2 separate regions of the Homo sapiens genome follow, and region 1 is linked to region 2. The links are contacts of gene promoters, found by promoter capture Hi-C in human tissues and cell types (Jung and others, 2019). All regions are on one chromosome and are shown on one strand. The core of a region is centred on a gene start or on the middle of the fragment in contact, and the rest is flanking DNA. Distances in the headings are between cores, read along the strand shown.

Region 1 (7,141 bases), core at 3,590-6,089, 74 kb after region 2:
TGCAGGCATCCTCTGGGCCCAGCTGCTGCACCGCTCCTTGGTCACCACGTGGCACAGAGAGCATCGCCCAAGCAAACACGCCCGGGTGGCGGCCCCAGGCTGGGTGGAGACAGACCTCAGGAGCCCTCCTGCTTTCTGCAGCAGCATTTAGCCATGGAGGGATACAGAGGCCAGCAGGGCCCTGGCAGAGGCTGACCTCAGAGCCAGGATTCTCAGAAGCCAGGGCATGGGCAGGGCTTCGAGGGAACTGGAAGGACCTGGGCCAGGGTGTACAGATGTGCGTGCAGAAAGGCCGCTGGCCAAGGACCAGAGGGTGGGGCAGCAGGAGGGGGCCCGGCCGGAGCAAGGCCAGCCTGGGCCCAAGGGGGCAGCCCAGGTCTCCCGGCTGGAGGCATCACGGCCACCCTGGTTGGTTTTTCTCCCCAGTAAACACTGGCAGTTGGCAATGAAGACTCAGAAGTGCTAGGGAAATGTCCCAGGGCCAGGTTGACCAGGTGCCTACAGGAGGCCCAGGTGGGGTAGGGGAGGTGAAGGCTGATCCTCAGCACTCTAGGAGCTCAGCAGGCCAGCAGGAGAGAGGACTCAGATGCACAAGAGTGGAAGAGCTGGGCAAGGAGCTTGGAGTCTGCAGCTCTGGTCACTAGGCCGGGCCATGCCTTGTGCAGGACACTCCCAGCCCCCCATGGAAGCTTTGTTCCATTTTACAGATGGGGAGGCTGAGTGTGGAGAGGCTGGGGAGCAGCTCTAGGTGGGGTGGGGGGAATACGCGAGGAGCTAGCTCAGTGCCTGCCTTAGAGCAATGTTCAGGAGCTGAAGCCGTAATCCCACCCCGATTAAGCTCAGAGGAGGAGCAGGGACAGGCGCAGGCCGGGACTTCAGGGGCTTCAGAGGAAAGGAGAGGGCACCCTCCTTTTGGGTAGGGGGTACCTGGAGGCAGAGCTGGGAGGGCCACCAAGTCTCCTTCGCCTGTCAGAGAGGCCCTATGGCCCTGCCTCCGGAATGCACTCCCAGGAGATAGGTGGCCCTGCAGTGACCACAGTGGCCGCTGCCATTTTCCAGTGGCCGCCATCTGCCCTCACCTTCTCAATGTCCTCCAGGGTGCGGTAGTACTTGGCCTCGGTCTCCTGGATCTCCAGCAGGCAGCAGTTCCTCTTGTCATCTTCAGTCATGCCCATTTTCTAGAGGAGGGAAGGGGGAGTCAGCAGGACCCCATGGGCCCGGCCACCTGCCACCTGCACATCTGCACCGCGACACCCGGACACCTCCACAAAAGAGGACTCCTTGGGTTTGGCCACGAGGTCACTGAGTGTGCAGTGCTGCAGCCAGATGGGTGACAGAGAGGGCCAACCCCTTCCCATTCATTTTGCAGATGAAGAAACTGACGCACGGGGAGGGGATGTGACGTGGGGACAGTGCCAAGGAAGGCTTGGAGGCAGAGCCTTCTAGAATCCCAGGCTCCTACTCCTCTGATTCTGAATCTCGATTCTTCACCAGACTGGGGTGAGGGCCTCAGAAGCTACCCCCTCCAGCACAGGAGCAGGAGTGACTTGCTAAAACACCTACTGTGTGCATAAGTCCTCTCTACGTGGCAGACTGTGTGCTCGGCTCCATGCAGACCACATCCACCATTGCACATGTCAGTACAGCCACCTGCAGGCTGGACTCTTCCCCTGAGTGTCCACTGGTTTCTAGCCAGGGGGCCTGAGATGACCCCCCACCGCCAGCAGGGTCCCTGGAGCCTCCTCCAGAGCAGGGCCTGCCCCCACCTCTGGTGGAATGTGGCCGGGACAGGATTAGAGATTGCCTGGCCCATGGTCCAGGGTGAGGTGACAGGTGGGGTCACTGTGGGGCAGTGATGGATTTTCCCAACACTGTCTTTAAGGTTCTGTTAGGCTGGGTAAACCCCACCTGTCAGAAGGCTCTGGAGAAATGGTGCTGTGACCCACAGCGCTCGTGTCGGCCCTAAGACCATCATCATCCTCCAAGAAATCCCCAAGGGTCCGCTTGGGTCTGCCAGGCTGCAGGTCTCTAAGGCAACGTGCAAGATGGGGCTGTGGGTACAGGACCACGGGGGTGCCGAGGGTCTCTGATGCCTGAAGTCATGTGTGCCTGACCATGTCTTCCTGGGGGCAGGGTCCCGAGTTTTCTCAGAGAGGTCTGAGACCTCCCTGAAAGGTCAAGAAGACGGCGCAGGCAGGACGTCCCCAGCCTCCCCTTCCGGGCCACTCACCTGCATGTATCTAATCTGCAAGCGTGGAGAAAGAACCAGAAACAGCGCCGGTTAGCAGGGCCCACACTGTCCTGGCAAGCTGGGCCTGGGACATCAGGAACGCCACCCCACAACCAGCCAACAGACCCAAAGCCACATCACGGCCCCTCGTGCTGCCCAGCTGGGCAGGGCGATGGCTCATGGGCCAGAGCTCCCATAGCAGCCCCCTACCCAGGCTCAGGAAATGGCATCTGCCATCCTCTGGCTTCTTCTTCCTTTGGGGAAGTCACCATCTCTATTACCTTCCACTGGGGCTGTTCAGAGAGCTCCAGACATGACAGGGAAGGACATGGAGCAGCTGTTTTATCTCAGAGGACCCTGGCAGGAAGCAGGAACTGCCCCTTGCCCCCAGCCCCTGCCTGGATGGACTGGACAGCTCGAGACCAGCGGGACCAGCGCTGGGCATGAGGACACTGTGCAGAGCGGGACATAGGCAGCGCTGTTCCCCAGCCTGGCAGGTTCTGTGGACACTCCATGTCCTTTCACATGCGTTTTCTCAAAGAGGTCTGAGACCTTCAGAACCAGGGACAGCAGCGGGCTCCAGGGAGCACCCACTCTCACCAGGCATGGATGGGGGTCTCGAGAAAGAGAGCCTGCAGGATCCAGGGCCAGGATCCCCCACACAACCTCACAGGCAACGCAGCCACCTGCTGAAGTTTACCTGCAGGACGCCCAGCTTTCAAACAACTTGGGGAGTGAACTGGCCTTGACCAGTCAGAGCTCATTCCCAAGTCCAGACGGCTCGCCGGCCGCCTCGGGACCTCTCAGGCCAGCTCCGGGGAGGCGAGGGGAGCCCCCAGCAGCAGGGCCATGGCTCAGTCTTCCAGCCCTAACAGCTACCCAGCCAGGCTCCCCGGGAAGGCAAACTGGAGGCCCTGCTGCCTCCACAAAGGGCCACCATCCCTCGGGGGAGACCCCCCGGTTATGGCGGGGAACAAAACTCAGTCGAGACCCTTCGAGGACAAGCAGAGAAACCTGCTCTTAACAGTCAGTTTGGGGGCTGTGAGACCCCCAGCCCTGCACCTGCCTGTCTCTCCCAGCAGGATGCCAGCAGAGTGGGCAAGGCCTCTTTAGGGATTTGTTTCCCCAGCTTTCTGCTTCTCCACCACCAGCTGGTTACTCCCACACTAAAGGAAAACACTGAAATCAGCTTTCTGAGAAATTTCCTATTTCTTTGGGGGAAGCCAATGGCATCAAAAGCCTCCACGGTTGGCAAGTGGCATCTCACCCACTCTTGGGAGCCTGGGGGTCTGAGGGCCTGTGACCTGCCCTACCAGGTCCCTGTCTCCTCATTCCAGCTCCGCTGGATCCCCACCTTCCACATAGCAGCTGCTGGCAATAAACCCACGCGGAGCAAACTGGCGTCCGAGAGATTATTCGCCAGTGCCTGCTTGGAAATAAACATCCTCCAAACATAAAAGACGCACAGCTGGCTAATTGGGCCAATATTGGTCTCATCATTCTCCACACAAAGGGGGAAAATGACGCGTGCTGTTAGACCATGCGCCAAGTTACTATCTTAAGGCTCCCTGGGCAGGAACAACTGAGGGGCCTGCAAGCCCTTGGAAGGAGAATCCCATGGCAACACGGGCGGGGGTCATGACCGTGGTGGTGTCATCTCTGGGCACCTGAGAACATCTCCATAGAGAGGAAGGGCACAGAGTGGACCAGGAGTCAGCCAGGGTTTCCAAGGATGCTCCTCAGAGGAGCTCCGTGGGGACTGGGAAGGACCAAGGGGTGCACCTCTGGACGTCCCCCTGCACCCAGAGCAGCTCCCCTTCGGTGGCTCAGACATGGGGACAGCTCGGTATTGTGTTAAGCAAGGGCCAGGCTGCTCTGCGAGGGAAGGGAGGGGAAGGGAGGGAGGAGCGGGGCAGGGCTCACCATGGGCTGCTGCACCTCCACCTTGATGATGTCCTCGTAGATGTCGTCCCCTCCATCCTCACACGGGACGCAGTCGTAGATGTCCTCCCCCAGGTCATGCTCGCTGCACAGGAGGAGGCGGGTTAGAGGGGAGGGGAGGCTCCCGCCACCCTGACCGGGGAGCCGCAGAGCACGAGGGTCCACGAGGGACGCAGGCGGCTGGGGCCACAGCGAGGTCACCTGCCCGGGCCTCAGTCTACAAAGTGGGGTGGGCCCCGCCTGCAGGGCGTCTGTGGGTGCGAACTGGGCAGCGTAAGGCGCATCCTCCAGTGCTCTGCCTGCTGCCTCCACTAGGTGCATTTCAGAGGGATCTGCCAGGACAAAGAACCCACTTCTCCAGCCCTTTGGTAAATGCTGGGGACGTAGGCCAGAGGTCCAGGGGCGGGACCCCTGCCTTCACCAGAATCTTCCCACCCCTACCTGACAGGAGCCCCCAGCTCCTGCCTCCAGAACAGAAGCCTCTCTCCCCTGGCCCAAGGCTGTGACCTGGAGACCTGAGTGCTTCCGGCTCAGCCCTGGCTCTTGCAGTCCTTGGATCCAAGGTGCAAAGTTTCCGGGTACATGGAGGGTGACCCGGAGTTTGTCATTTGCCTTCTGAAACCAGAGCCAAAGAAATTCCTACCAAAATCTAATACAATAAAGCTTTGTTTTAGCTCATGGTCCTACTCCAACAAGCCACCCCTCTGCCTGCAGGACTCAGCTCACGGGCCACCTCCTCCAAGACACCCACCAGGATCCCCACTTGGTCTGTGATCTGGACTCTTGCAGACGCTCGTGTACTCGATGCAGCTCCTTGGCTACATTTCCAGTGACTCTGTGAGTGGCAGCGGATGAGCCTGGCCCCTCCCCACACTGGGCTTCCTCAGCCCTCCTGATGCTCCACACCTGACCTGCTGGGGCTCAGCAAGTCTTTCACTGAATCAGCAACTGAGCCAATCCAACCACCCCCTGTTCCCACAGGCCCCGTTGGGGGCTCACTGCACCTGGGGGTGGAGGGGCAGGAGCTACCCCAGGCCCAGACAGGTTGTGTATTCAGTCCTGCAAGCCCTCACCCCTGCACAAGGACACATCTCACATCCCGGGCTCAAAGTGGGTGGCAAAGTTCACTGCTAGAAGGACGGAAATAAATGCAGAGCACCCCCTTCCATGGCCAGCACGCAGGGAGGCGAGGCAGGGACAGAAGCCGGGGCAGGAGCAATCCCTGCGGTACTCAGGAACGGGTTCCCCAGCCACGCTGTGTGCCACGGCCTCATCCCAAACCTCGCCTTTGAATATCAGCTGTCGCCTTTTAAGGCTTGGGTTGGGGAGGACCATTCAAGGTCTACTTGAGAGAGGGAGGGCCCGTGTGCATTCGAGGAAGGCCCTCAGCACCTTCCCTGGAGGACACGCTGCAATGCACAAGCCACACGGCGTCCGTCTGTGGGCAAAGCATCTGTGCCTCTCTAGAGGGGAAGCCGGGGGTGAGCCCAGCTCCTGCCTTGTGGAGCCTCCCGCAGGCAGGCGGGCAAAGGAGGCGGAGGAAGCTGTTGCTCCGGGTACTTCATTTTCTGCACCACTACAGTCGTGAGTGAGGTGGATGAAAGCCGGTCAGAGGAGCAAAGTTGGCAGAGGGCAGATGGCCCTGGGACAGACCAGACTGATCGAACCCTCCAACCAGCATTCAAAGAGCCACCGACCCATGGGCAAGCCCCTCTGTGTGCCAGCGCCTGTAGAAAAACAGTTATTCTCTTGGGCCTCACAGAATCCTTGGCGGTAACAGCACTGTGGCCATTGTGCAGATTAAAACAAACAAACTGAGGTTAAACAGCCAGCAAGGGGCAGGGCTGTGGCCCTCGCTCACTATCCTCTCCTCTCTCCCCACCCGCCCTCCACCATGAGAGGTCCATCTGGGTGTCGCTCAGCCGTGCGGGAGAACTGAAGCCGGGGTAAAGGCAGCCGTCAGACGGGTTGGGCCCACATTCTGGTGACAGAGGCTCCCCTGGGAACAGACATGAAGGCAGGAAGGGTGTTTGTGAGCTCACAGGTTTTCTTACTAACCCATCTCAAAGGTCCATCCCCAGCCAGGTCCGGCGACTGCCTTAGAAACTGCCACCAGCGATGACACAAATCACCTCCCCTGCCTCTCCAGATGCTGTCCCCAAGGACACAGCCCCCACCTCTCTGCCCGCCAGGCTACCAGGGATGCAGGCAAGTGACTGCAGGGGTTGTTCTCAGCGGCTGCCAGCCACCCCACGTTTCCGTCACGTGGCAGAGCGAGGCTGGCGGCAAAGCCTCTGTCGAAAACTCTTGACAGCTGGAGGCGAGGCGAGACAGGGAAGCTTCCAGGCTGCTGAACGAGACAACTCGAGGGCAGATGAGGCCACTCAGACTGTCTAGAGACAGACGTCAGCTTTTCTCCAACAGGCCAGGTGGAAGGAGGGGGGTTGGCCGTTAAATGCTGCAAGAGCTGATGACATGGATCAAAAACGGCTGCAAGCCGGACCTGGACAGGGGCCTGGAGATCGTCCCGTGCAGGGATGGCAAACGGCCACACTGTGGGGTGTCCCAACAGAGCCCAGGGCTCTCCCCCACCACTCAGGAGCCTGTTCATAAAGGCCCCCATGCCGCCCCCATCACAGGTCGACCAGAACCGGTTGCTGACGACATGCAACGTCTTTCCTCTCCCCCAGGAGCCCCAGGCTTGTCACAGTGCAGATGGGAAAGCCCAGCCCGGGCTGCTGCAGGTCTCTCAGATGCCATGGACACACATCCTTCACTCGTGCCTCCCACCGCAGTGGCCTTGCACTGCCATTTACTGAGGACTCTACGACGTGCCCGGCTCTGACAAGGCCTGAACGTATTCCGGGAAATACAGGATACGATCCACTGATCCCGGGATGGAAGAGGCACGAGCTCCATCTGGAGCCCAAACATATTAAGGAGGGAGAGAATAGGGAAGGCTGGGATGGT
Region 2 (6,482 bases), core at 2,401-4,900:
GCCGGGCAGGGAGGATGGGGAGGGGACTGAGGACAGAGGACCAATAGCTGGAAAGGAGGGGCTCCGGTCTCAGGGACACTCACCCCCAGATCACAGACAGCGAGAGGCTGGGGCTGGGCGGGGGCCGTCCCGCCAGCCTTGAGAGCCCTTTCGGAGCTCAAGATGCTCCTGAGGGGCCAAGCAGCCCTGCTGCCCCACAGGTCTGTGCTGGGGCAGACCCCAGGTCCTGCGGGGTGGGGATGGGACCTGGGAGGCAGGAGTGCCCAGAGAAGGCGGTGGTAGTGGCACAGCAGGGCAGGGAGGGGGTTGTGTTGAGTGATGGAGACACTTGCGCTCCCAGACAGAGAGCCAGGAGGAGGGAGAGGCATCGTGGATGCTACAGCAGTGGCCGCAGGGTATCGGCAGGCAGCCTCGAGACGGGGCACCCAACCCCCAAGCCTGGAGCCAGCACCTCCTCCTGGGCAGGCCCCTCCCAAACCCAGACAAGAGGGGTTGCCCCCTCATCAGCCCCAAAGCTCGGTGGGACTAAGGCGGAAGCTGATGAAGGATGTGGTGTCCCGGCTCTGCTCCCTTGGGGCCACCTGGGATTGCAGAGTAGGGGCTCAGAAGCCGGGTTAACAGGCCTTCCTCCCCTCTGCTCCTTCCCAGCTGACCCACCCCGACTCCCTCCTCCTTCAGGAAACCCTCCCAGATCTGCCCAGCCAGAAAAATCCAATAACAATGAGAATGCAAGAGGGAGCCCTCCTTCTCAGGAGAGAAGGCGCTGATGAAGACGGATGTCTCCTTGGGTGCAGGCGAGGCAGGACAGGCAGTCAAAGGAGTCACCATGTCCTGGGGACGCAGCAACCGTGGTGACTGCAATCCACACAATCAGCCTCCACGTTTGCACTGTAACTGAGCTCGTGTTAACTGAGCTCGTTCAAGCAAAGCTGTCTGCAGTAGGGCCTTTCCCCTGGAGAGGGCATGTGCACATTGATTTTACCTGTCCTCAAACTGACCCTTTGCTCATTCTAATAGTAAAAAAACACACCCCTCGGTGGAGATTTTAAGATGCTAATGAGGCCGGGCTCTGTGGCTCATGCCTGTAATCCCAGCACTTGGGGAGGCCGAGGCAGGCGGATCACCTGAGGTCAGGAGTTTGAGACCAGCCTGACCAACATGGAGAAACCCCATCTCTACTAAAAATACATTAGCCGGGGGTGGTGGTGCATGCCTGTAATCCCAGCTACTCTGGAGGCTGAGACAGGAGACTTGCTTAAACCCGGGAGGTGGAGGCTGCAGTAAGCCGAGATTGTGCCATTGCACTCCAGCCTGGGCAACAAGAGTGAAACTCCGTCTCAAAAAAAAAAAAAAAAAGATGCGAAAGAGACATGTGACGTATGAACAAACATGTACAGCTACCGCATGTGCACCCAGAGGACCAGCCATCACATGCTGCCTAGTAACCTCTTCCTCTCTTTCCACCCACTTATGAATAATTGTGGAAGACTCCCTGAAAGGGGGTTTCTCCAACAATCATCAATGCTGCCTCACACTCAGGAGCAGCCCCCCGCCTGGAATCCTCTCTCTCCCAGGGTGCATCCGCACCTAACTTTCAAAATGTTCTTTTTCTTTTGCAATAAATTGCTCTATGTTGCAGCTCTTTTGCTGTGTGTCTCATGTTTAAATTCTGTTTTGTTGTTGTTGTTGTTGTTTGTTTGTTTGTTTGTTTTGAGAAAGAGTCCCACTCTGTCTTCCAGGCTGGAGTGCAGTGGCATGATCTTGGCTCACTGCAACCTCTGCCTCCTGGGTTCAAGCGATTCTCCCACCTCAGCCTCTCGAGTAGCTGGGATTATAGGTGCATGCCACCATGCCTGGCTAATTTTTGTATCTTTAGTAGAGACAGGGTTTCACCATGTTGGCCAGGCTGGTCTCGAACTCCTGACCTCAGGTGATCCGCCTGCCTCGGCCTCCCAAAGTGCTGGGATTACAGGCATGAGCCACTGTGCCCAGCCTAAATTCTTTAAACTAAGAAGTTAAGAACGGAGGTCTCACAACAGCCCTCAATGGAAGGGTGGGGTGGTGTCCTGCCCAGTGTGGACCTCCACTGCCCTTTTCTGGGATCTGCAGGAAAAGTGAAAGGGATGTGGCTGTGATCCAAGATGTGAAGTGCTGTGCCACCTACGTCAGTATGAATGACTGATATAATTATCTAAGAAAGTCAGCATCCTTTTTCAAGAGTGGACCATAGCTATGCACGTTCGTTCACTCTCATTGAACACCTATAGACACATGATAATGTCTCTACTTCACAGCGGGGGAGTCTGACACACGGAGAGGCTCCCTGAGGTGACCAGGGTCATAGGGCCTCCATGTGGCAGTGCCAGGGACTCTCTCCTGCCCCCTCTTCTGACCATCCCAGGGGGACTCAGGACCCACTGCCACACTCTGTCCCACCTGAACTGTGGGCACTGCCCAAGCCCTGACGAAGCCCAGAACCCTGTCCTAGGCACAGTGGGGGATGTGAGGGGGATCCCAGCTCTCAGGCTGGTCAGGGCTGCCCCCCATCTCCTGCCCCAGTGCCCCATCCCAAGGGAGGGAGCAGGGAGTCTGATTGCAGCGGCGTAGGGGAGTGAGGAGGTGTTGGAGCTTGTCCTCAGCCTCTCAGCCCTCAGTGTGTCAGCCCGCCTGGCTCCTGCCTGCAGAGGTGGCCCCGGACAAGGAGGCATGCCTCCTGCATGTGTCTGTACATACCTTCAGTCCTTGAAGGTCCACAGTCTTCCAGGAGCCCCCAAAAGTGGTGCCCCACCAGGGGAAAGCCAGCTTGAGTGGCACCGAGGAAGGCCCTCCAAGGCTGAACACCCCCACCCCACCACCCACCACCCACCACGGTGCCGCATGGCACAGCACACCTGGTCAGCTGTGGGCAAAAGCCTCCCTCCTCCTTCCGACTGTGCCCAAAAAGCGACAGCTGCTGGCGCCGGAGGCTGCCACGTGCCCCTTCACCACCTGCCTGGTCAGTCAGGGCTCTTCTGACTGTCAGACTGGGGGCTGGCAGCGGCCCCAGCGGGGACAGCCCAGAGCCCCTCCTGCCTGCCACCTCCCTGGAAACAGCTGCCTCCACATTAACCCACTCTCTTGCCCCCTCCAACTCTGTCTCGTACCTGAGTCAGCTTCCCAGGAGTGAGGGCTGAGGACAGCCCTGGGCTTGGGATCAGACAGATGGGTGGGGGTTTTGTCACAGGACTGGGGCCTCGAGCAACAACTTAACCTCACTGCAAAGCAGAGGACCCAGGAACGCCCTCCTCCTCCCAGGCTCAGGGGGTGGTGGGGGTCAAGCGAGGAGAGCGCCTGGCACCTTCGCCTGGTGAGGGTAGGCAGACTTGTGGGGAGGAGCGGCAGGGGGCGGGGAGGCAGCTGCCCATATGGTGAACCCTGGTCCTGCTCATGCAGCTGGATGGTCCCTGCAGCCAGAGGCAGAGGGAGATCCCAGCCAGATCTGACCAGGCCCAGCCCCGCCCACATAGGGGAGGCCCCAGCCTCGTCCCTCCCTGGGGGTGTACCTCCAAGTACCTCTTGTCAGCTGCAGTGCCCCTCGGCCCTAAGAGTGCTTGGCCCAGCAGAGGTGCCTTCACCTTCTTGCTTCCCAAGCAGTGGCCTGGCCGGAACTCCAGGCCTCCCCCGCCCCCCACCCTCGCTGCCAGCCCCATGTCTCCGCCCAGGATCTGGGCGGAGCGTACCGCCCACCACTGCGGCTTCTAGGCCAGCTTAGTTGGGGCTTCTAGGCCAGCCCTGTGGGCAGCTCCCTCTGAGGGCGGCAGAGCAGGGTTGTGAACCCCATGCCCCATTACCCGTAGGCGACCTGGCAGTCACCCTTCCGCTCCAACCCTCATTTCCTCGTCTCTGAAACAGGCGCCTCAGGGTTGCTGCAGTAGACCCAGGCACCACCTGCCTGCTGGAGCCGCCCGAGCTCCCCGCGCCCAGAAGGAGCTATGCACAGGCAGGGTGGGCAGGAAAGGTGGGGTCAGCAGCAGCTTGGGCCAGGGGCCCGTCCACTGCAGGGAGGCTCCTTTGGTGAGGTCATCTCAGCACATGCCCCAGTTTGCTCACCCCCAGGGACAGGATGCTCACTGCCTTCAGAGGCGAGTGAGAAGGCCTGGGTCAGCTTCCCAGGGACAGGGTCTCCTGGTCTGTCTGCGTCCTGCTTTCCCGAGCTCCCAGACCCCTCTGGTGTTTGGGGAGATGCCCCCAAGCCACTGGCTACTGCACAGCACGTAGCCCCCAGGGCAGGGATTCCAGCCTCCATTGACTGTTGGGGACAGCAGTGCCCAGGGAGGGGGCCACACAGCAAGCTGGTGGAGGAGGCAGACCGGATGCTGCAGCCTGACTCTGGGCTGGGGCAAGTTACCCCTTCCCAGACAGAAGTAGACACCCAGAGGAGGGGTGTGGAGGAAACCCAGAAAGAATACACCTCTGGATGCCCAAAGAATCAGAACAGGTGCTGATGGAAAGTCACATCTCCTCCTCGCGCTGGATCAAAGACGGGGCATTTCAATGGCAGTCTGTTAATATTGTAATGATGCCAGCTGCCAATACCGGAAGCGATCGTATAGTAAACTGCTGTAATTAATACCAATCAAATCATTGTGTTCTTATTCACACCGAGGATGTCCGACTGTCTTGTTGCCAGCTTGTCTATCCTCTACATTTACTGAATGCCCAATGTGTACAAAGCACTGCTGGGAAACCTATAGTGACATCTAAGACCCAGCCCCTGCCCTCGAGGGGCTCAGGGTCCACGAAGCAGACAGATCCAGGGAGAGACACGACACCACAAGGCTGGCTTCCTTCCAGCAGGGAATCCAGGAGGACCTCTTAGAGGAGGGGGCCTGGGCTCTGGGCCTGACCACGTGCTGACACCATTCTCAGTCCCTGCCTCAAAGGCAAAGGGCCCACTGGCTTAGGCCCCTGGCTGCCCAGTGGAAAGCTGGCCCCGCCAGTTTGAGGCTTACCTGGGGTGGTGTGGGGGTCCTGGGGCAGAGGACCTCCTCTTTGGATGGTGTGGCTTGCCCAGTGGCCTGAGCTAGGGCTGTGCTCACCCAACAGGGTGACGAATGAGCTCAAGAGGGCAAGGAAGGAGTGTGGCCCAAGTTCTCCCAGGAGTCCTGGACGTGCAAGTGCATGGGAGAAAAACGCAGCAGTCACCACAGCTCCAGGGCAGTGGCCGGGTAGCCCACACTTCTCCTGTCCCTGCACTCAAAGACAAGTTGCAACTGTTGCAAAACTGTTACAAGCCAAGAGGGCAGCACAATGAACCTGCACTTTGGACAAGGGGTGGTGGCTGGGGGCCGGTCCCGGCCTGTTAGCTGTCTGTTAGTATCGTAGGATTTTCATCCGGCAGGGCCTGTTAGCACCCAGCTCCGGTCTGGGAGAGGTGGAAAGGCTGTCTCCCCCCAGGGACTAGTAGTCACAGCTCTGGAGAGGCCAGGCTCCGGACAAGGAGGCCAAGACAGGGTCCTGTACGATCTCGGGCTGGTCTTATCACCTCTCCCTTTGCTGAGACTTAGTTTTCCCATCTTGGAACAGGAGGCTGGAAGCCCTGCCATGTCAGTTTCACAGAAGCCTTGTAAATTTCCCTGAGTAAATTTCCTTCAGTCCTGCTCTAGATCACACCAACAGAGGGGCTGCCACCTCAAAGAAGTCACCCCACCAGGGATAAAATCTACTTGATCACGGTGCATGATCTTTTTAATGTGCTGTTGAATTTGGTTTGCTAATTTTTTTTTTTTTTAGACGGAGTCTTGCTCTGTCGCCCATGCTGGAGTGCGGTGGCACGATCTCGGCTCACTGCAACCTCCGCCTTCCCGGTTCAAGCGATTCTCCTCCCTCAGCCTCCCAAGTAGCTGGGATTACAGGCACGCACCACCGTGCCCAGCTAATTTTTTGTATTTTTAGTAGAGACGGGGTTTGACCATGAATGGCCAAGCTGGTTTCGAACTCCTGACCTTAAGTGATCCCCCCACCTCGTCCTCCCAAAGCGTTAGGATTACAGGTGTGAGCCACCGCGCCCAGCTGGTTTGCTAATATTTTGAGAGGATTGTTGCATCTATGTTCATCAAGGATATCGGTCTATAATTTTCTTTCTTGTAATGTTATCTGGCTTTGGTATCAGGGTAATGCTGGTCTCGTAAAATGAGTATGACTCTATGTTTAGTGCACTCTGAAGAAAACTGTGGTGCAAATCAAAGTCACAGTTGACTCTACATTCAGGAGTGAGGGGCTGCCTCCAGGTTCACTGCCCTCCCCAGCCTCCCCGCCACCGCTCCAGTGGGGACTGTGGTAGACTTGTTCCTCTGCCCTCATGGCCTGGACATACCTGAGCCAACCCCAAGACTCTTCCTCTGGCTCAGGCTGGCCCTCTCTGCAGGCCCCCACCAGCCCTTGGCCCCGACTTGCTGGCCAGGCTTCCAGGACAGAGAGAGGTGCCTGCAGGCTGCCCTCTG

What was found. Contacts are between HindIII fragments. The study calls those that stand out against the background at their distance.
Region 1: a contact is called between a fragment that was not itself captured here and the fragment with the promoter of SARDH in region 2, in 3 of the 25 tissues and cell types used here (adrenal gland, ovary and spleen).

Annotation. Positions count from the first base shown.
Region 1 is chr9:133,807,961-133,815,101 of GRCh38, forward strand. VAV2 (vav guanine nucleotide exchange factor 2) reads right to left here. Exons shown (of 30, transcript NM_001134398.2): 5 at 4,154-4,256; 6 at 2,231-2,245; 7 at 1,080-1,178. Among named protein-coding and RNA genes, the nearest start is that of SARDH, 73 kb to the left of the region's middle. RefSeq lists enhancers at 3,822-4,577, 4,578-5,332, 6,089-6,842. The HindIII fragment of the contact is 4,157 bases long and covers 2,762-6,918 here.
Region 2 is chr9:133,734,702-133,741,183 of GRCh38, forward strand. It overlaps SARDH (sarcosine dehydrogenase), which reads right to left and starts at 3,651. Exons shown (of 21, transcript NM_001134707.2): 1 at 3,553-3,651. The HindIII fragment of the contact is 19,009 bases long and covers 1-6,482 here.